2 separate regions of the Homo sapiens genome follow, and region 2 is linked to region 1. Evidence: promoter capture Hi-C in 16 types of primary human blood cells and fetal thymus (Javierre and others, 2016). All regions are on one chromosome and are shown on one strand. The core of a region is centred on a gene start or on the middle of the fragment in contact, and the rest is flanking DNA. Distances in the headings are between cores, read along the strand shown.

Evidence for each region. Contacts are between HindIII fragments. The CHiCAGO score rates a contact against its expected background, and 5 or more counts as called.
Region 2: a contact is called between a fragment that was not itself captured here and the fragment with the promoter of SLC4A5 in region 1, in 5 of 17 cell types (activated CD4 T cells, total CD8 T cells, non-activated CD4 T cells and 2 more). The highest score is 8.1, in activated CD4 T cells.

The regions. Positions count from the first base shown.
Region 1 is chr2:74,340,373-74,345,458 of GRCh38, forward strand. SLC4A5 (solute carrier family 4 member 5) reads right to left here and starts at 3,044. Exons shown (of 31, transcript NM_133478.3): 1 at 2,984-3,044; 2 at 2,086-2,162. The HindIII fragment of the contact is 2,074 bases long and covers 2,442-4,515 here.
Region 2 is chr2:73,758,984-73,764,069 of GRCh38, forward strand. DUSP11 (dual specificity phosphatase 11) reads right to left here. Exons shown (of 9, transcript NM_003584.3): 9 at 3,230-3,876. The coding sequence ends at 3,678. Among named protein-coding and RNA genes, the nearest start is that of DUSP11, 19 kb to the right of the region's middle. The HindIII fragment of the contact is 3,144 bases long and covers 415-3,558 here.

The DNA.
Region 1 (5,086 bases), core at 1,794-4,293:
CTAGGCAGGCCTGCTCTGCTTTGCTGGCTGGCTTTTTGGGGGTTCATGTTACTGAGCAGCGATGAAAGGCTGAACCAGGACCAGGGGAAGAGGGTAGCTTCATCCAAGATGGAGGAGAAATGGGCAGGAAAGAGATGATGGGTGGGGGCAGAAGCAGAGAAATTCCCATGGGGCCATGAGGATGAGATAAATGGGGTGGGTGTAGGAAAGGAATTTCCTACAGGGGTGGAAAAAGCTGGCCTTTGAGGGGAGTAACAGAGGAGTTACAGCAAGAATCTGTAAAAGAATCACCATGTTCCACTGGTGAGCTGGAGATCACAAACGTATAGTTTTCATATTCTTCTCACCTCTTCTCTTCCAGGCAACAACCCTGACGGGGTTGAGGACCCTGGTTAGCTAAATAAGTGAGGAAGAGTGGAAACCAGGGACTCCCCATCCAGACCACCATCCACCACGGGCCTCTGTTCTTTAGCAGCACCAGAAGAGGCTCCACTCCAAGTCAAGATTGAAGTGGTATCTTTAGGTAGGACTGGAAATTATAATTATTAAAATGAGACTGAGACCAAGGGTGGCTGGAACAACCTTGTGACTTGCCTAAATTCCATTCAGGGGCAAAGCAAGAGCTAGTCCCACCGAATAAATGTAAAAGAGGCTGGGTGCAGTGGCTCACGCCTGTAATCTCAACACTTTGGGAGGCCGAGGTGGGTGGATCGCCTGAGGTCAGGAGTTCGAGACCAGCCTGGTCAACATGGTGAAACCCCATCTCTACTAAAAATACAAAAATTAGTTGGGCGTGGTGGTGGGTGCCTACAACCACAGCTACTCAGGAGGCTGAGGCAGGAGAATCGCTTGAACTCAGGAGGTGGAGGTTGCAGCGAGCCAATTATTGTGCCACTGCACTCCAGCCTAGCGACAGAGCGAGACTCCATCTCAAAAAAAAAAAAAAAAAAAGAGTAAATGTAAAAGAGCAGTAAGAGACAAAAATCAAGCTGCTTTCTGATTTTACCACATAAGTCATGTTTGTTCAATGGAACAGTGCACATTAGCTTTAATTGTTAATTAACACGCATCTGTTAAATAACCTTGTATCTGACTTTGGATTTTAAGCTTTCTGAGGGCAAGGACCATGTGCTGTTTAACCCCACACTGTTCCCACAGCCTGGCAAAGTGCCTCAAATTTACACAGGGGGCACTGAGATGGCTGCTGAGTGAATTGCTGACCAAGAGGGACTGCCCCACATCAGGCAGCCCATGCCATTACTGTGCTCACACTGTGCCCGACACAGAGCAAGGGATCATAAGTCCTGGGTGGCTTGAATTGACTCTTCCTAAAAAAAGAGTCTGTGATCTAGGAAGTCCAATATAAAAAGATGTTGCGGATTGCCCAGACTTAGAGTAAGAGGGGCAGAAATGAAGTAGGCATGGATGGTAATTTTGTTTTTCCATCAGGGCTGCTCTTACTCTGGAGTAAGGAGAGGAAGGCTAAGACACAAAAGGGGGACTCCGCCCAACCCAGCTTATGTCCTGTGATACCAGAAGGGAGCATTGCAATGACCTATTAAACCTCAAACCAAGCTGAATCCATTTCTGAGTAAGAGACTCTTACAGGGCTCCTGTCCTCAAAACTATATAAAATTGCTCAAATTATGTACTTCTGAGATAATAAATTAGCAGAAGAAGCACATAGCCCACCTCTTAAGATAGGGAAGTAGATCTGAAGTAGCTCAAGAAACAAAGTTTTCTACAGATGAAGGATGAGGGAAGGAAACCCAAGACCAGTTGATTCTGGTTTGGGAAATGATAACACTGGAGAACACACTCTACTATCTGTTTCTTGTGACATCCTTTGTGCTAAAGTTATCTCCTTTGTTGGCATGGCCACCATCCCTACTTCTAGTGCAGTGGAGATGTATGAGTGTCTCCATTGCTAAGTGTTTAGTTACTCAAGATAAACTTGACTGGAGAGGGTGTGGGCAGGCATTCAGTCAAGCAACAAGCCACTCACTGAGTGCCACCAATGGTGTGGGAAAAGATGACTCTCCTTAGACTGGTCCATCCAAAATAAAGGAGGTGGGGAGAGCATACCTGGGTGGTCTTCAGGGTACTCCTGGAAACATCCATCAGCTCATGAGCTCACAGCTGAATTCCAAATCCTGGGATGCCTGCTTGGAGGGAGGGTAAAACACCATTTCTCAGGGACAGAAGCCCACAAAGCTAAGGGCACTGGGTTTCTAAGTCAGGATTTCATCACGGCTGGATGACCCTTTTTTAAGGAAAGCCAGCTGATCTCCAGGACTCCTGATACATAAGAGCTATGCAGTCTGTCACTTCTAGGGAGAGAGATGGGGACTAGCTCTGGTTCCTCATGCGTTCCTTCCCTCTCACTCCCTAAAGACCTCAAGAAACAGATCCTTGGTAACAATGCCTTCTTTGGGCCAGAAAGCTTAGTTGAAGTGTGGATTCTTATACAAGTCTCATGTTTTCTGGACTCCTAGGAGACTCAGAGGAGACACCATAGGTAACCCTTATTGAACTGGAAGAAGTGTGAAGTACTATCAACCACTGAGACTCCCATGGCTCAAGAATATGCACAGAGGTCTAACTAGATATAGGTCTCAGCCCCTGACTTTAGAAGTCTGACATTCCACAGATATGCACACACTACACGCTCCCCTCACAGAGGAAACTGGAGTAGGGGGACACAGCAGAACAAAATCGCAACACTACTACAGGAAAACCTCGTCATTCCGTTACTTGTCCTTTGCTATGTTGGAATACTTATAGATTAGTTTCAACAATCAGGTTACTCCTTATCTTTGCTCTAAGTCTTGTACAGGCCTTTAGCAAAAAGCAATAAAATTCTCATCTGACTCTTGGTGGGCTGGGGAATCTGCCTATTCTATTCAGTTGGTTCACTCACATCTCCAAACCAGAACCTACAACCACTCTGTAACTTTATTTATGTAAAATCCACTCTACTTACCCCAGTGCAGTGGCCTGTGGCTCCTGGGCCCTGACTCCAATTCCTTTAGGGTGGACCTTGCAGTTGGAACCATCCACCTCTCGTTTTTTCTATCTCTGCTATTAACATAGCCCCTCCTCTATTGCCTCACCAACTATTTTCAAACCAAAAAGTCTTTGTCTATTCATAGCCACTGTAAAAGTAACATTCATTTTTCTGTTTTTTAATCTAATGTCTGCGTCTTCAGTGGTTCTCACTGGCTAATCTAATCAGTGTGTTCTAGGGAGGTTTATTCCTTGCCTGTTCAGCTTGTCCCAGCACAACAAAGGTAAGTCATTTGCCTGGGGAGAATCAGCTCTTTTAAATCAGACAATCCTCAGGAAAGATGTCAGGACTTTTGCCTCTTTTCTTCATGGGACTGAGATTCAGGAGAACATTCCACATTCCACTGCCACACAGCTCTGCAAACCCCAAATCCTGACTCTCCGAAGAAGGATATGGGCAAGGAAAACAAAGAAGGCATTTGAAAAAACCAAACCTTGCAAGAAAAACTTTGCGTACTTGGTGATTTTTCCAGGTTTATCCTGACTTTTGGCCTCTGTTTTTATGAATTCCATTTTTGTTTAAGTGAAAAAGATACGGTGAGAGAGACATAGTGGAAAATGGGAAGTTTGGAGGAAGATGGGAAGGAAGAAGCCAGTGAGTAGGAAGTGAGAATCGGGAGTGGAGGGAGTGAGGGACGCGGTGCTGAGCGATGGGGAAGAGAAGCATGCCAGGAAGGCGCAGCGTCTCTGGGCACCCAGCATGGGGCCTGGTATATGCACACATTTCCCCTCATTGAACTCTCAACAGTCCAGTGGGGAGAGCATTCTCGTCCCCAACCTTACAGAGCTGGAACAGAAGCTCAGAGACTTACAGACAGGAAGAAAAGTAGGAGCTGGAAGCCCCATTAAAAAAGCAACTCTACCCCTCTTCTTCCAGTCTCTTCTGTGGCTTCTCTAAGGGTCTTCAGCCTCCTTATTTCAGGGTTGACCTTCTCTTTCAGATAGGAAATTTATCATCTGGTTGGATATCCTCACTTTCTTCCTAGATCACGTGGAGTTTTCCCTTAGTGGAAAAGCCTCATTCCTGGATCTAGAGCCTGCTGGTGGCAGACATGTAAAAAACATGTTTCGGAGGCCATGCCCAAGCCAACACATTAACCCAACATTATAGTTTCTGTTAATAATCCATGGAATCAAAGACAGGCAAGACTAGGGAGATCAACACATGCTGGGTCACCAGAGGCTTTCCTGGTTTTAGCACAGAAGATCTGTGACCCAGGAAACCCCTTAGTCCCAGGAAGATCAGCACAGCCTAGGCCAGAAACAGTTTCGGGCCTTAGGGAATTTCCAGCTGGTTGGGGATTCAACAAATTCAGAAGAGTGTGAGGCTCCAAAAAGAAGCACAAAGGGAGGGAAGGGTTCAGTGAAAGAAAAATCACCCTTGTTTGGAGGATTACCTTGTTCCACAAATGTTCATGGCTTACCTACCAGCCCCATGTGTTAAAGAAAAGCTTTGTGGAGAAAATGGCCTTGGAGATGCAGTGAAGGGATAGGATAGGGGTAGGATTTAGAACAGTAGAACTACCAAGGGGTATCTGAGGCAGAGGGAAGAAGCCACAAAAAATATAGACATAAGAGGTGGGAGAACATAGCATAAATATCCTGAGAACTGGAGAGCAGTTTCCCTGGCACAGGGCAGGTTTGGGGAAATAAAGCTTTGGGCATGCGACGATAGGCTGGGTAGTCTATGGAGAGGTGTAAACATCAGCAAACATGTCTGAAGTGAAAGGAATGTGGAAGGGGACTTGGTACAAGAATGGAATAATGGACTTCACAGTGGATTGTAGCACAGGTGGAAAGACCAGTTGAGACGTTACTGCCAAGCATTCAAGTGAAACCCTTTGGTTTCTACCTACCCAGGTTTTGTTCAAATAATTTGGACATTTATTTCAGACACTTCAGGTTTGGGGTTTTTTTGTCTCTCACTTCACACAGGAATTTGAGGGTGAGCTTCATCTGGTTTGGTGAGGGTATTGGAAGGTATGGGGCAGGGGCTGTCCCTCCAGGATGCACAAAGGGA
Region 2 (5,086 bases), core at 737-3,236, 580 kb before region 1:
CTATATGGCTTACGGTGTCTGCTGAAACCAATCTTTTCCTACAATGGGCACATTATGCAGATAGCCTACAGAAGCTCGTAGGGTTTGAGGGCTGTTACCTATCTCTAGCATGTTGGTATTACCTTGGTCGGTCTTGCTCTTACAAGGAAACAACTGAGTACAGTAACAAACTTTTATGAAAAACTATTCCAAAGAAAATCAGGTCTCTGGTGTGCTAACACGAGGAAATGTAAGGCTATGGCCTGGCATTAATATAACCCTTCACAACCCAGGTCACAGAAAATCTTTTACTATATATCAGACTGTTCAACGAACTTTTGAATACACTGCTCCTCCTCTCCTGAAGGAATTTCCCTTGGCAGCCCCCCAAATTTTGGCTATTAATAGCCACTATACTGAGGAAGGTTTTTATCAAGCTTGGGATGATTATCTTTGAATGACTGTGTTCCCCTACCCTTATCCTGCCACCGGCCACATAAATCAAATTGCCCCTTTATGTTGGGAACAACAACAAAAAAAAAAACAGCATTCTTATGATAACTGGCCAAATATCACTAAGAATATGGGCTGGATGCTCCCCCCACCAGTGTGAACATACTCCAGGGCTGCAACAAACTGACTGGTTTGCTACCAATTGGACACAGGCCAGGAATTCAATTGGCTAGCTTCATACGGAGTGCAATGGCTATGTGGGACTAATCTTTGGCCCTGATTACCCATTGGCTAGATAGGACAATATGCTCTGGGATTCTCACAGGTCCAGGGCCATTTGGCAAAAACCAACGGACAACCTGGAAATTTCCCAAATGTGTTGCATCAACGGACCAAGTCAGTTTTCCACTGGTATGACCATCCCCTCTCCATTTTTGTTCCCCAAGTTAGTTTAAAAAATGTTATCTGACATGTTGAGATCCTAACAAATTATACCCAGCATGTGCTGAAGGATGCATTCAAAGGCATCTCTTTAGTCACCTCTCAGATGACTATGATGAAAAAAGCAGTTTTGTAGAACCACATGGCCCTTGATGTCTTCACAGCTACACAAGGAGAACTTGTGCCATAATGAAAACTGAATGCTATGTGTACATTCCAGACAATTCAGGAAACATCACCCTGGCCCTTCAAGATATGTACAAACTGATGCTGTGTCCAACCTCATGATGTCACTAAACCAATGATTATCTTAATACTTCCGGTCAGTACCCTCTTGGTGGAAAAAATTACTGGTAATTCTAGCTATGACTATAGGAACAGGAATACTCCTTGGCTGTGGATTATACTGCTGTGGCACTATATATGTGGGATTGCAAGATCGCCCTTCTCAAGCTCCTGACACCCTGTTCAACAATGTTACAACAAAATTGCCTAAGTCCCGGGACATGTGAATATTTTCAACTGCAGGTAAGTAAGTTCCATTCCTCAGCCCCCTAGGAATGCCCCTTGCCAGCGGGAAGTAGTTAGACTGAGTCAACACCCCAACTGAAGATTGAGGAAAGGAACAGTGTCAGTGGGGATACTGTAACCCAGCCTATATTAGAAAAATCATCAGGTGTTTATTTTACTTATTTTTCTTTCTCTGTCCTTAGCTTCCTCCAGGCAGGATCGCTCGCACGTAGTCATTTTGGTAGAGAGCAGTCACTAACAAGTGATTAACTTTATATCCTAACCCCCAGGGGCTGCTTGCAAGATTAACGTACTTGTTTTTCTTTTAAAGAACAATGATCCTTAGGTCATACTGACCTCCCTGATGGCATCCAGAAATTTGACTGGCCAAGGGACACGAGCAGCTTTGATCATCAGGGAAAGCCCCCAATTACATGCAAAGGAAGGTCATATTTGAGAATCTGCTTCTCCCACCCTCATACTTTGGCCAAATTGAATAAACCTTTCTAAGCATTAATGTGTCAGTGTTTGGCTTACTGTGCACCGGGTACATGAACCTAACTTTTGGGGTTCTACAACAGCAACCTGACTGAGCTAATCACGTACAGCCAAGAACAGCTGAGCTACAGTAGCTCCTTAAAATCAGGGTCCAGATGTTGTTCATAGATGAGAGAAGAGAAAATAACTATCACATGCAGCATCAGACATTCAATGACACAAATCCTCAAAATCAGATGCTTTAAAAAATGAAGCCAATGGCTGGGCATGGTGGCTCATGCCTGTAATCCCAGCACTTTGGGAGGCCAAGGCAGGAGGATCGCTTGAGCTCAGGAGTTCAAGACCAACCTGGGCAACAAAGTGAGACCTTATCTCTATCAAAAATTTAAAAATAAATTAATTAAAATAATTTAAAAATGAAGCCAGGTTGCTCAAGTATTCATCAAGTATTTACTGAGGCTTACTATGTGTTATGATGATGAGACACTTCTTTGAGCCATCAAAGGTTTCTGGCTTCCTCTGCAACTAAAAATAATTACCCTCCCCAATGAAGGGTCTGTGTGTTCCACAGGTATAGCAGCAGAAGAGACAACTTGGAAAAAGTGAAGGTAGGCCAGGCACAGTGGCTCATGGCTATAATCCTAACACTTTGGGAGGCTGAGGTGAGTGGATTCGCTTGAGCTAAGGAGTTTGAGACCAGCCTGGGCAACATGGCAAAACCTGGTCTCTATTAAAAAAAATACAAAAAATTGGCCAGGCATTGTAGTCCACACCTGTAGTCTCAGCTACTAGGGAGGCTGAGGTGGGAGGATCACTTCAGCCAGGAGGCAGAGGCTGCAGTGAGCCTAGATGGCACCACTGCACTCCAGCCTGGGTGACAGAGCAAGACCCTGTCTCAAAAAAAAAAAAAAAAAAAAAGGTAAGCCACAACTCCACTTAAGAGGAGAGGCAACTGGAGAAAGATCCCAGGAGGTTATATTCAACAACGGAGCAATAACACAGTAGTCTTGCTAGACATCCACAGCCTTTAAATGGACATATTCTACTCTGTTTATCACCTTTATAAAAGTTTTCAAGTTTTCTGGATAGTTCTACTCAGTTGATGGCAATTACCCTGCCAGGTAACTTACTCACTATAATTGAATAAACCAGCAATCTGGTTTATCAGTCAGTCTCTCTTGCTCAATTGACAATCCCTAAAAGTTCATCCATTCCTGTGTGAGACCGTATATCTGACAATTCAGTCAAAGGAAGTTGGTCAAATCCCACAACTGACTGCCAAAGAAAGTAATATCTAATCACAAAAATACCACAATTAATTACAGGTAGTAACTAGGTTCTAAAGAAATTATCTCCTAAGTAGATTTTAATATAAATTTTGAACAGTTATAGAAAATAAAGATGGCCTTTGGGTCAATAACAGAACATAACAAAAACACTAAAAATTTCTGTACATAAACACACGCATATCACAAGTCTAGTCAGAAAGAAATACATAGAAAAACAAGATAGAATTTTAAAAATAATTTGCAAGGGAAGTTCTCAATGCTTCAGTTCTAAAATATTGTCTTCTTTTAGAAAAATTTAAGACTGGAATAACAGATTGTTTTTCCTGCAATGCTGTAATTACTGCAAATTTATCAGCAAAGAGGTAAACAGCAATGCAATTTTTCCTTAAGCTTGAATACATAAGGGAACAATAAAGAAACCTGATTAGACCTGAACTAATTAAAAGTCACACCAGTAATTTTCAGGCCAGCTCTGGTCTCCAGGTAGAATTCCAGGACAGGTTTGTATCACTGGGTCCATTCCCAACAGGCTGGATAGGAGAGTCTGGAGTAATTATAAGGATACCACCTTCTTCTATCCTGGGCTGCCCGACTGGCATTGGGCTTCACATTCCAAGAATACCTCCTGTGTGAATAGTCCTCTCCAGGGGGACCAGGAGGAGGGAGATGGTGTCTCTGGTAAACATGTGGATTCTCTGAAAATTTTCTTAAAGCAAAACAAAAAGTAATAAGCCATTACTAGGATTAATACAATAATTTTTATTTATTTTAAATTTATATTTTCATAAAATATTTTAAATTTATAAATTTACAAAATAATATATATTCTACTGTTTCCTACCTGTGTGACCTAAGCAGATAAAATACTTAATTGTTATTTCCCTAAGTTCTTTATAAAATGGGGCTAATAATACTTTTCACCTTCACGAGCTGTTATGAAGCTAAATTAAAAAAATACATTTCAATTACCTACAATGCCCTGGCACACCGTGGATTCCCAGAAGCCTTTCCACCTTTCCCTACAGAGATAAATGCATGCCCATACTATTCTAATCAAATACTTTCTCTCCCAAAGTCTGGCAGGGTTGACATAAGACAGAATAAGCTAGTTAGTACTGAGAACAGATATCTGCTTCCACTTTATAAACGAACATACATAAATTAATTATGAAGTGTGAAAAACTTTAAGCATGGTATATGCAACAAATTTGAAAAATTAGGATTTAAATTAACTTGTTTCAAAAGCAAGACCAGAAAATCTCATATAATTATACAAAAGAAAATTTGGGGCTGGGCGTGGTGGCTCGCACTTGTAATCCCAGCACTTTGGGAGGCCAAGGCGGGCGGATCACCTGAAGTCGGGAGTTCAAGACCAGCCTGACTAACATGGAGAAACCCCATCTCTATTAAAAATACAAAGTTAGCCAGGTGTGGTGGTGGGAGCCTGTAATCCCAGCTACTGGGGAGGCTGAGGCAGGAGAATCATTTGAAACCGGGAGGTGGAGGTTGCGGTGAGCTGAGATCACACCATTACACTCCAGCCCGGGCAACAAGAGCAAAACTCCATCTTACAAAAAAAAATAAAGAAACTTTGGAAATATGAGAAAAGAAAAACCCCCCACTGCAGAGCCCTCAATCCCACTTACTATAATTCAATTAGTTAGTATTTCCTTTTGTTCTTTTCCCCAGCATCTTTTTCTGACTGTTGAATCACAGCCTATTAGTTTCACTTATCATAAATGAGCTAACACTTCCAATGGCTTTATAAAATGTTATAGTATGGATATAATTATTTAGCTACATTCTCCACTGTTAGAAATATAGCAGCTACAAGTTTTTCCACAACCACAAATAATGCTGGGATTAACACTGCAAAACATATACTACTGTATCCTGAGCTAGCCCAGCATCTGACA